3 separate regions of the Homo sapiens genome follow, and regions 2 and 3 are each linked to region 1. Evidence: promoter capture Hi-C in 16 types of primary human blood cells and fetal thymus (Javierre and others, 2016). All regions are on one chromosome and are shown on one strand. Each heading gives the region's core, a stretch centred on a gene start or on the middle of the fragment in contact. The rest is flanking DNA. Distances are from core to core; before and after follow the strand shown. Region 1 holds the start of LELP1 (late cornified envelope like proline rich 1). Region 2 holds the start of LCE3E (late cornified envelope 3E). Region 3 holds the start of LCE2C (late cornified envelope 2C).

The links. Contacts are between HindIII fragments. The CHiCAGO score rates a contact against its expected background, and 5 or more counts as called.
Region 2: a contact is called between the fragment with the promoter of LCE3E here and the fragment with the promoter of LELP1 in region 1, in 4 of 17 cell types (M1 macrophages, M2 macrophages, megakaryocytes and 1 more). The highest score is 6.9, in M1 macrophages.
Region 3: a contact is called between the fragment with the promoter of LCE2C here and the fragment with the promoter of LELP1 in region 1, in 16 of 17 cell types (endothelial precursors, total CD4 T cells, M0 macrophages and 13 more). The highest score is 16.4, in endothelial precursors.

What each region holds. Positions count from the first base shown.
Region 1 is chr1:153,201,528-153,205,511 of GRCh38, forward strand. LELP1 (late cornified envelope like proline rich 1) reads left to right here and starts at 1,903. Exons shown (of 2, transcript NM_001010857.3): 1 at 1,903-2,004; 2 at 3,160-3,593. The coding sequence starts at 3,181. The coding sequence ends at 3,477. It also overlaps a transcript of SPRR2G not described here. The HindIII fragment of the contact is 8,615 bases long and covers 917-3,984 here.
Region 2 is chr1:152,564,610-152,568,593 of GRCh38, forward strand. It overlaps LCE3E (late cornified envelope 3E), which reads right to left and starts at 2,171. Exons shown (of 2, transcript NM_178435.4): 1 at 2,129-2,171; 2 at 1,045-1,620. The coding sequence starts at 1,599. The coding sequence ends at 1,321. The HindIII fragment of the contact is 4,975 bases long and covers 1-3,312 here.
Region 3 is chr1:152,673,560-152,677,543 of GRCh38, forward strand. LCE2C (late cornified envelope 2C) reads left to right here and starts at 1,720. Exons shown (of 2, transcript NM_178429.5): 1 at 1,720-1,769; 2 at 2,436-3,010. The coding sequence starts at 2,457. The coding sequence ends at 2,789. The HindIII fragment of the contact is 8,836 bases long and covers 1-3,984 here.

The DNA.
Region 1 (3,984 bases), core at 653-3,152:
AGAGCTGCTTCTCAACAGCTTTGAGGAGAGAGAGCTGATGAACAATATTATGGAAGAAAGAGGAAATTCTTATGAAAGGAGTGAGCTGCACAAAGACTATGACTCTATCGCCAATTATTCCAGTGATAGGGGGTTAAATCCCAACCCATTCTCCTCTTTTATTTAGGTTCATTTGAGGTTTAATTGAATATGGCATTATTTATCCTTGTGAATAAACCCCATATGAGGTTTCTCCATCTTCAACTCATGATCTTCTATTCAATAAACACTTGTTAAACTGAAATGAACTGAAGGCCTCAGGTCTCCCCAGTGGCCCAAGGGCCAAAGCCATATTTCCAATAACCACCCAAGAGGGTTGACTCTAACTAAACTCTTCTCAGACTTAAACCCATATTCTTTTAGCACAAATCTGTTCCCCTGTTTCCTCAGCTCTCATTAAAAGTAATACTAACACCCCAAAACCTGGTGAAACATTGTCCCAAAGAGTTAAACAAACGAGTGACTAATACAAATTCTTGAGTTTACATGATAGTAGATTTTAAAAAAAGAACAACTTGCTGAAATGCTGAAACTCTCTCCATTTGTAAGATAACAAAATTGGCTGAAGTCATTGGAGCCAATCTGGCAGACTGGAGTCTGCACAGAAAAAGCGTGCTGATGTCACAGCCAAATTTCCACTGCATGTTTCATACTGACCCTCCCCGAAACTGCACATGTGACCCATGAGGTAGCATGAAGAGATAACTTCCCATGCCCGAGGACTTTTTCCAGCCCTCCCTTTTCCTTCCACCAGTCACCTACTAATACCAGAATCTAATCCCTAACCTTTCCCAATAAAATGACTGCCTTAAAGCCAGCACAGGGAGACAGATTCAAGCTAAACTCTTGTCTCTTTGATGGTCTAGTTGCAGTAAAAAGCTTTTCTTTTCTCAAAAACCTGGTGTCATCGTATTGCCTTCTAGTACACTAGGAAGAAGCCCTTTTGCTCTGGAGTCATCTTCAATTCTTAATTTTCTGCACAGTCAGTAAATAAGTCCCATGAATCTACCTGTCTAATGAGGTCTTTCTCATGGGCACCCAGACCCATGACTGCCTTCCTTCAGATGTGGAGATTTTCATAATTTCTTTAAAACAGTCTCATTCGACTTTTACTTCACCACCCCATCTCCCAATCCATCCTAATATTTAAATACCTTAGGCATAATCATGTCACAATTTTAATCAAAAGTCACTAGAGATTCATTCGTGATGACTGCCACGATGAACCTCCTAAACCTGAGTTCAGGCACCCTGTGTCTAAGCCTACCCACCTTTCGCACTCCAGCCTCCCATCGCCACTCCTAACACACCCCCATTCCAACCACAAAGACCCTGGTCAGGCCTTTAAAAAAGGCAAGGAAGGAATTCTGAGAGGCAAATCTTTGTGCCCTAAGGCAGGATCTGGGGCTAACCCAATTGTGTGGGGTGGTAAGAAGAGGTTTCAGAATCTCACATTAGAAAAATAAAGAAAAGAAGAATGTCAAAATGGCAGTGATCAATTCAGGGTTGCTCTCCTAGAAGGGTGGGGAAGGAGCAGGTTCAGAGGAATTAAACTTTGAGGGTGGAAGAGGAGCTGGAGACCATGTGTCAACAGTGGGCCAGCTTTTCTGCTCCCAGCAACAATGAGCCTCCCATCCTCAGAGCCCAGGACTCTTCACTGCAGCCTCATTTTACCAGCCTGAATGTTGAGGGGTCTAGGGAGGGGTGGGACAGCCAAGGGGGGTGATTCATCATGGCTCTATTCTGGTGTTCAGGGCTTGTTGTGCTGGGAGCTATGGAGTCACACAACAATTGCCCCTCGATGATGCTGCAATGACCTCATAAGTGGAGGTCATTTCCCCTGCCCCCACCCCCAGCTTCCTCAGATCTGGGCAGAGGAACCAAAGGGAAAAGCCACCTTCCCAGGCACAGCCATAACATCCACCTCACTCAACTGCTTGTCAAGTTCACCACCAACACAGAGGGGTAAGTTGCATTTGGACAGGTGGAAGTGGCCACTCTTTGGCCTCTTCTACCCTGGGAGTGACCTGAAGTACCCCACGCACTGAGCAGGGTTGGGAAAGTCATGTTTGAATGAAAGTTTCCTGTTATTTTCAGTGGTAAGAACTGGTGTGTGCTTCACCTTGGAATAGAGTCTCAACAATTTTAGAGTTCAACTTAATAATATGCCTCCCCAGAGAGCTATACTGATTTTAAAACAAAATTTAAAATGTTATTTTTATATTGTTAAAAGAAATCAAAGAAATATAACCAATTAGATCCAACTTGAAGTATTGTGAGGGACTGAAAATCCCTGTCCATATCTAGGAGTTAAACTGTCCGTGCAGAAATGCCTAGCTCAGGGCAAAACTCAACAGGAGAGAAAAGGAATTCCCTTCTGAAAATCACATTTTGTGGCTCTATCATTCAGATTTTCAGAGAAATTGGAATTTCGTGGTTCATCTCCTGATTTCTTCCCTTACCCTATTATTTATCAGAACCTGGATGGAGACAAAGGAGTGGGCAGTTCTAGAGTAGCCCATGGGAACCCACTCATGGCAGGGATTAAATTACTTTCCCTCCCATGGCCTCTAGTAAAGAAAGCAATTCTCAAGGTTCAGGGAACTTAGGTGGGACACAGGATTGAAAGCAGTGTCCTAGGCCCCCAAGTCTGCTAGTGTACCTCCCATCTATCTTCAGAGGAACAGGAAGTGGCCTTAGAGGAGCGAAACTTCTATTGTGCCATGAATGCCTTGAGCAATCTGGTCAAACTTAGGGACTCCTTGGAATCATGTTTCTAAATGAATTAAATACAACATATGGAGTTACAGAGACACCAACTCTACTGAAATACAGTTTCAGTGGGGTGGGGGAGGTGGGGGGTCCAAAACCATAGGTTAAGAACTCCTACTAGAGTCTATAGCATGGAAGCAAGAATAAGTGAAAAGGAAGCAGAGTTAAGGGTGGAGAGATTAAGAAATGCTATCTCAAACTCATACAAGGATGAGGGCGGCCCTAAATGAGAAGATGATCTAGAGCCTGAATGCATCTCAGGGAAGACTTTCTTAAGTACAAGGATAAGCTGTAAGAAGCCTGTAGGTATCCTCTCCCACCTACAATGCATCTCATATTTCTTTGCAGGGCTCAGATAATCAAGAAACAATGTCGAGTGATGATAAAAGTAAATCAAATGACCCCAAGACTGAGCCCAAGAACTGCGATCCCAAGTGTGAACAAAAGTGTGAGTCCAAATGCCAGCCCAGCTGTTTAAAGAAGCTGCTGCAACGCTGTTTCGAAAAGTGCCCATGGGAAAAGTGTCCAGCACCACCCAAGTGCCTGCCCTGCCCCTCGCAGTCTCCTTCATCCTGCCCTCCCCAGCCCTGCACCAAGCCCTGTCCTCCTAAATGCCCTTCATCCTGCCCACATGCTTGCCCACCTCCCTGCCCTCCCCCAGAGTGAGGCACTGTGGGCACTACCCAACCCCACCACCACTGCCACCTCCACCATGTACAACGCTGTGGGGCTGGAGACTGAAACCATGAACTGACAAGTAAACGTGTTCCTCTGCTGTGCAAGACTTCTCCTGGTGTTTCTGGTGGGTTTTGATTTGTTTTGTTTGTTGTTTTACAGCACTAAACCACCAACAAGCAATCCCTGAGAAGTGAGGCTAGAACCCTGCACTCTCAACAACCTTTGAGAACTGACTTTCCCTCTGACCCCACCTGCTGCTTAGAGGCAGGTGCCCACTTCTGAAGGGTGTACCCAGGTAATGCCAGGCTGTGTTAGAGCAAAGCCTGAGAGATCCATAAATATGGTTGCAGCTGTGAAAGCGTCTAACGCCAGGAAGCAGGAAAGAGATGGTATGAGGGAGAAAGAGGAGTAGAATATTGGTGAAAGGTCCAGGAAGGCTCAGGAAAAGGCATTGTACTACTTTTCTGTTAGTCCTGTTGCATAATGCTTATGCAG
Region 2 (3,984 bases), core at 921-3,420, 640 kb before region 1:
GGATTACAGGTGTGAGTCACCATGCTGGGCCTCAGGGTCTTTTTGATCCCTAAATTTTAAGAATTAATTTATAGGATTTGACAAAATCCTTTTTTAGTTCAATGGACTTATAAGGTTATCCATCTTTATTTTTAATGCCCCCCCTCCACCTGCTCTACTTAGCCCTCACATCAACTTCTCTTAGTATTTGTAATTTGACTGTAGCTCTACGTGACACTTCTCTGGTTTTCTGGTAGTCAAAGTGAGATGTTACTCTTAGTTCACATAAAAAAACATTCCTTCAACCCCAGGAGCATCTCAGTCTCACAATTTAGGCCAAAACATGTGACTCCATTGAAGTTGTAACTTCCATGTGTTGATGTCAAGGTCGTGTAGTTACAAAATTAATAATTTGTTGCTTCTTTGGTATATCTATTTATAATTCCAGGAACACTTCTCATTTTCTGCCTTTTTCTTTTTCCTAAAATTCTCATTTTGCACATTCCAATAATCTCATTGAGTAAACTCCCAGCCACATCTCTGCTCCATTATCTCATTAATTTAAGCACCTCTCTCAGCTTTCATCTCTCTCCCTGGATTTTCAGTCACTGAGTTATACTTCTTCCCAAGGCTTACATCTCTTCCCTCCATCTTTTGATTCTGCTTCTCTTCTGCCTATTTTCTGCTTTTTTGCCTTTTGATTTCCGGTTTCTTAGTTAGCACTCCAGAAACAGCTCATCAAAACAAACTAGTGGTCTTCTGTCATACACTGGAAATTCCCCAATTGTATTAATGTCCTCTCAGATTTTACAGGAAAAGTCAATTTTTGCACTGATACCCTCTTTGAGTTTGAGGTTGAGTTTCAGGGCCTCAAACCAGCACAACCTGTGTCGTTCTCTCCCTCCCACTACAACATAAAACTCTCCCCTTCCCTTCCATCAGTGGAGCGGGGTCGGATCCACTATGTTTTCCTGGTGCAGAGATAAGGTTTGGCTCCTGAGCTGGGTTGTACTGACCAAAGAGCTGAGGAGAGAGACTGTGAAATGCCCAGTGGGACGCTGGTGGTAATGAGGACAAGGAACTTTATCTTTTTTACGAGGTTGGGCACAAGCACTGCCAATCCTTGGCAGGTACAGGGGTAGGGGGACATATGACATCCTGTACATAAAACAAGAAGTGCCTTCTGGGGAGAGCTCAGATCCCCCACAGGAAAACCTCCAGCTCAGCCTGTGAAAGTCAGAAGAGGGTATATGGGAAGGCATGCGTCAGATGGGGCTGTTCTTGGCCTCTTGGGATTCTTGTTTCCTCCAAAGATCGCTTGTCTCAGCATCAGGATCTGGATCAGCAGCAGCCCCCAGAACCGTGGCAGCAGCCAGAGCCCCCGCCTTGCTGACCACTGCCCCTGTCACAGGAGTTGGACCTCTGGCGCCGGCATCGGTGGTGGCGCCTGTGGTGGTTCAGGAAGCAGCCGCCCTCGGAGCTAGGGCCACAGCCCCCAGAGCTTGGGGCACAGCCAGAGGAAGCTGGAGGCAGACACTGTACTGGGTTCTTTGGGGGACACTTGGGTGAGGGGCACTTGGGTGGGGGTTGGCACTGCTTCTGGTTCTGCTGGCAGGACATCTTGGCAGGAGTTGAGATGTCCTGGAGAAAACGAAGCCACTTCTTAGTTCAAAATCTACAGTCCAACGTCTCTAAGACCAGCTGCCTCCTGAGGCAAGAGCTGCAAGAGGGTGAGGGAAGCTGATGTGGAGCTGGTGGGATATGCCAGATACTTCTCACATTGCTCTCCACCCGGGACAGATTGCTGTGAGTCTAAGTGGGCACGTGTGTTTCTGTTTCTCCAAAGAACCCCTAGGGAATGCACCCTTTTGGGAAAAAGAATTCTGTAGAATGGATGTTACAGGAAATGTGCCTGCCTGAGTAGAAAGAGGATGGGAGGGAATTGTGAGCTCTGTGGCCTTTGCAGGTCATGGAATTGCTGTCAGTTCCTGCAGGGTCTCCCTCCTGCCCCCTTCCCCCATTGCTGCCCTCTCACAGTCCTGTATCTGGGTCTTTGTTTCAAACCTCTCTGTTTCCATCTCTTCTGCTATGGCCTTAGCTTTCTGTTCTAACATCCCATATCAAGCCCTGTCCCCTGCTGAATACTTACCAGGTGCAGAGAGGCAGGAGAAGGCTGTTCCTGAGGAGACTGTGGAGGAGCCCAGGGCAGGAGTGCTTTTATCCTGTGCAGGGTGTGTGATGCACAGGCTGGGCATGCTGCTGCTTTCACAACCAGGGGAGGTGACAGCCAGGCACACCCTTGAGACTATCCATTCATCACCTTCCTGTGTACTCACCAAGATGCCTGACAAGAGGGAACCAGGAAGGTCTGACGCCTGTTTACCTTCACCTCATTCAGGCCTGCTGGGGGTTGCAATCCTACCTTCCTTGAAGCAATTGTTTTTATCACCACTCATTAGTAGTCACTCCTTATTCCACATTGCCCCTCTGGCAACTAGTAATCAATTTTTTGCCTGTATGGACTTGCCTATTCTGGACACTTCATATAAATAGAATCATATAATATATGGCATTTTGCATTAGCTTCTTTCACTTAATATATTGTTTAAGATTTATCCATGCTGTAGCATGTGTCAGAACTCCATTCTTCTTTATGGTTGAGTAATATTTCACTTTATGAATTTAGCACGTTTTATTTAACCATTCATCAAGTGATGGACATTTGAGTTAGCTCCAATTTTTGGTTATTGTGAATAATGCAGCTACAAACTTAATCTTTATTATTTCCTTCCTCCTGCTTTATGTTTAGTTTCTTCTTTTTTTCAGTGTTTTAAGGCAGAAGGTTAGGTAATTGATTTGAGATTTTTCTTCTTCCTTAATGTAGGCATTTGCAGCCATGTATTTCCCTGTAAGCATTTCCTTTGCTGTATCCCATAATTTTTGGTATGTTGTATTTTTATTTTCATTCATCTCAAAGTATTTTCTAATTCTCCTTGTGATTTCTTTCTGAACTCATTGGTTGCTTAAGACATTTCTGAATTTTCCAGTTTTCCTTCTGTTATTGATTTCTAGTTTCATTCTCCTGTGGTTACGGATGATACTTTGTATGATTTCAGTGTTTTAAAATTTAATGATACTTCTTTTATGACCCAACAAATGGTCTACCCTGCAGAATGTTCCATGTGCAATTGAGAAAAATGTGTATTCTGCTATTGTGGTTGGAGTGTTCAACAAGATGTCTGTTAGATTTAATTGGTTTATAGTGTTGTTAAAGTCTTCAGTTTGTTGATTTTCTTCCTAGTTGTTCTTCCATTAATGAAAGTGGAGTATGAAAGCTTCAAGTATTATTGTTAAATTGTTTATGAGTTGTCTGTTTCTCCCTTCAATTTTGTTAGTCTTTGTTACATGTAATATGGGACTCCATTGTTAGGTGCATATATATGTATAATAATTATTTCTTTAATAGATATGGATCCTTTTGTCATTATAAAATGTCCTCTTTGTCTCTGCCATTAATTTCGTCTTAAAGTCTATTTCGTCCAGTATTGTATAGCCACTCCAGATCTCTTGATTACCATTGCATGGTGTATGTTTTTCTACCTTTTACTTTGAATCTATTTTGTCTTTGAGCCTAAAATGTGTGTCTTATAGATAGCATATAGTTAGTTCATGCTATTTTATCCATTTTGCCAGTCTTAGCCTTTTGATTGGGGTATTTAATCTATTCACAATTAATGTAATTACTATTAAGGTAGAATTTATGTCTACCATTTACTATTTATTTCCTATATATTTCATAACTTTCTTTGCCCCTCTTTTTCTTCACTATGGCTTTGTTTTTTATTGAACAGGCATTTTCTAGTATACCCTTTTAATTTCAATGTTATATATTTTAGTATATTTTTTGAGTTATTTTCTTAGTGGTTTCCTTGGGAGTTCTTATTAACATCTTAACTTACAGTGATTATAACTCAGATCAATACCAACTTAATTTTGATAGCACGC
Region 3 (3,984 bases), core at 470-2,969, 530 kb before region 1:
AAGGCACAGTCTGTTTCTGTTTTAATCAGAGGTGTGAATATCTATTTTTTTCAATTCTAATTTTTAACACCTTTATTGAGATGTAATTAACATATTTGTAGTTCATTTGTTTAAAGTGTAAATTCAATGGTTTTCAGTATATTCACAGAGTTGGACAATCACCACCATAATTTTAGAACATTTTCATTACTTCACAAAGAAAACCTGTATCCATTGGCAGTAACTTCTCAATATCTCCCAGCCCGCTAAAGCACCTGGAAGCCACTGATATTTCTCAGAGGACAGGCATAAACATAAAAGGAGATACAGGGAACAGAATCTCATCCAGGCTCTTGTTCCTCGGATGCCCTGAGTCAGCTCTTCAGGGGTCCAGCCTGGGAGAGGCTGTAACTGGCTAAAGCCTCATCCCCTTTCTATTTCCAGAGATTTGCCTACTCTACACATTTCATATAAATAACATCATACAATATGCAGTCTTTTGTGACTGGCTTCTTTCACGTAGTGTAATGTTTTCAAGGTTCACACTCAATGTATCTGTTTAAACTAAATGAATAAATGACTGGGTAACTCTGTCTAGTGCAACCCTGAATCAGAACTCTGAATAACTAGATTCCTGGCTGACCCTCTACTTCCTGGTAGGAAAGGAGTTCCCTCTGCATAGGAGCCCCAAGAAATGATGTCTACTTCCCAAGACAGGTTTCAAATAATCTAAGTGTCTGGTGGAGTTAAGCTCTCTGAGGGTAAGGGCTCTATATGGGCAATTAATGACACATAAGACCGGGGCAAGTATCCAATACATGGCATTAGTTTTTCTATTAAACATATATTTATTAAGGGTCTATCAGGCACAAAATGTCATACTTAGCTCTTTCTTGCTTCTCACTTTATATTACAAACAGCTCAGTGAGATAGGTATATCTCACTGATAGGTTTATAATGGGCATTATATGTGAGAACTGATACTCACAGTGAGTATCATAGTAATACTCTAGCAATTATTGATAATTGTTACAGCAACTTTCAGAGATTACCCAGTTATCATATGCAAGTTTTCTGATTCCAGTAGCACATTCAATACAAGTCCTCTGACTGAAGGAAATGTTTAGATTTTAGAGGGAATTGTTTATTCTCAATCATTCTCCTTGCTTTAGGTGACAGAATCAACTCAGATTTAATCCACCGAATCTGCTTGCCATGGTGAGTCGGAGGAAAAGCAGAAACACAGAGGCCAGGAGGAAGGGCTGAGAGCCTAGGCAAGGGAGGGATGCCTAGAAAAAGCCAAGGCTGTAGAAGCCCTCTGGGATGGCTGGATCCACAGCAGGACATGGAAGAGAAACTGCTCAGGGTGGAGGGAGTCATAATGGAACATTTCCACAAGGTCAGGGAAAGCTGTGGCTCAGAACTGATGTTTCCTCAGAGGACATGCATTAAAAAAATGCAGGGAACAGAATCTTGTCCAGGTGTGGGTCCCTTGGGTACCCTAAGTTAACTCTTTAGGGTTCCCACCTGGTGGAGGCTCTGACTGGCTACAGCCTCTCTAGACTGCAGCCCCAGAGAGGAGTCCTGGAAGCTCCTGAGGCCTCTTTGGATTGCAGGGACTAAGAGGCAGGAGAATGTCAGGAATGACCCAGCGTGTGCCTGGTTGTGCAAGAGCCACCTCCTGCTCTTTCCAGAGCCAAGCCTGGGCCCTATAAAAGACACATCCAGCTTCAGCATCTCATCTGCTCTGACTCCCCAGGGACGTGTCTGTGCTCCTGCGTGTGACCAGGGTGAGTGGCAACCTGGGATACCAGAGGGGTATGAGCAAGGCAGAGGGATGGGGAGGATGGAGGTAGGCTGGAGAAAGAGTTGTGTGCTTGTGTTCTGCCATACTGAGCAGGAATGGGACTCAGCCTGCCTCGAATCTGTTGAGGCTCTGAGGCCTACCGGAGCTCATATAGGTGGGGAAAGCTAACTGTGCACATCTTTTCCAATTCTGTGTTCAGTGACTTCATGTTGGTAACTTCAAAACTGCTGTGTTGGGCATATTTACACCATGGAAACTGGCAAATACTTCAAGCCAGGCTCTTTTATCTGGAGGTTTCATTGCAAAATATTTTCCAGAGGACCCCTTGGTATGTCCTGCAACACCCAGCTTGTCCTTAGGGCTTGTATTAAAGGAATAGGTACTTCAGGGAGCTGTGAATACTCTATTCGGGCTTGTGAGGATAGAGCAATCGCAGTTTCCCCTGAAAGGAAGAGTAAGAAGCTCATTCTGTTGATTTTTTATCTACGTACTTTTATCTAGAGGAAAGATTCAAGTTGTTTCTTTCAGGTTACTGATGTGATTGTATTATCTAAATATCATTCTTCTTCTACACATGCATTGATTTTAGAAGAGGTATAATATGATCCTTGGTTTGAAATATTTAAAGAGTTTCATTATTATCTTTCAGGTTGACTAAACTCCTGCCAGCATGTCTTGCCAGCAAAACCAGCAGCAGTGCCAGCCCCCTCCCAAGTGTCCTCCCAAGTGTACCCCAAAATGTCCACCTAAGTGTCCCCCCAAATGCCCACCACAGTGCCCAGCTCCATGTTTCCCTGCAGTCTCTTCTTGCTGTGGTCCCAGCTCTGGGAGCTGCTGTGGTCCCAGCTCTGGGGGCTGCTGCAGCTCTGGGGCTGGTGGCTGCTCCCTGAGCCACCACAGGCCCCGTCTCTTCCACCGGCGCCGGCACCAGAGCCCCGACTGCTGTGAGAGTGAACCTTCTGGGGGCTCTGGCTGCTGCCACAGCTCTGGGGGCTGCTGCTGACCTGGGCTACAGAAGAGCTCTTGGGACTGAATGGCCAAGAACCTGCTACGGCCTGATGGATACTCTTTCCACTTCCTCTCATTCCATTCATTGGTTGGCAGAGACCACAAAGACTCATGGGGCTTTCCTGGAAGAACTTCGTGCTTGATGTAACACCCCAATTGCAAGTCTTCTTTTCCTCCTTTACCTCATGTTATAATAAAGCTCTGATCTCTGACTCACTAAATGTCTTGGTCATTCTCTTCTCTTCTGAGATTTCAAATGTCCTCCAAAGGTCAGGGCCTCAGAGTAATTTTCTTCATGAGGCTAGGACAGGACATGAGTAGGTGATACATGAAAAGCTGCTCTGAGGAACTGATTCCCCCAGATGCTGAGTGAATGGAGCTCCAAGAGGGTCACCTCTGGCTATGGTAGCTTTGCCTTTCTCTCCACTAAGCCAGACACATGTTCTAATTTTCTGTGTAATCCAGACGTTGGGAAGGTTGGGAAGCTCTGCAGACTTGTTCTTCTCTAGGGAGAAGAACACATCCCTATGAAGCAAAACTTTCCTGCCCTTAGAATCAATAGTTGGATAAAATGCTTGAAACAGATGTTGAGACCCTTCCTCCTGTAAAGTACAGCCCATGGTCACTCAGCTTCTTTTCATGAGTCTGGTTAAGATCAGCCTTTTGACTTGCTGCCTTGGACACCTGGCTTCAGTTCCTCACAGTGTTAGATCTGAGTCCCAGGATGCTGTCCTGCCACTTGGCTCACGTGCTGGGCAGGGGAGTGATGAGTGATGGAGATATTAAGTGAAAAAACATGGAAGTGTTGCTTAGAAGATACAAAGAATATAAGGAACATAAGAATACAAAGAATACAAAACGCTGTATGAAAGAATAGACCTTTCCTCCTTCAATACTTATCTTTTTTGCCAAGCCACCCTCAGAATGTGAGGGGGGAGAAGCGCCAGGATGGGTGGGGCATCTTAAGTATTACTAGAGGAAGGGGAGGGAAGCAGGGACACAGCAGGGGAAACAAGGGCTAGTGCTTCTTAGGTTCAGGCTGACAGGTGTCGACATGAAGATAATGGATTCAGCAAAGACGGATTTTGACAGAGATGGAGCCTCTTATTAATATGTTTACCTTCTTACTTACCCTTAGTGCCACTAAGACAAAAACCCAGCTGATTAACCAGTTTGAGATTCTGTACTGT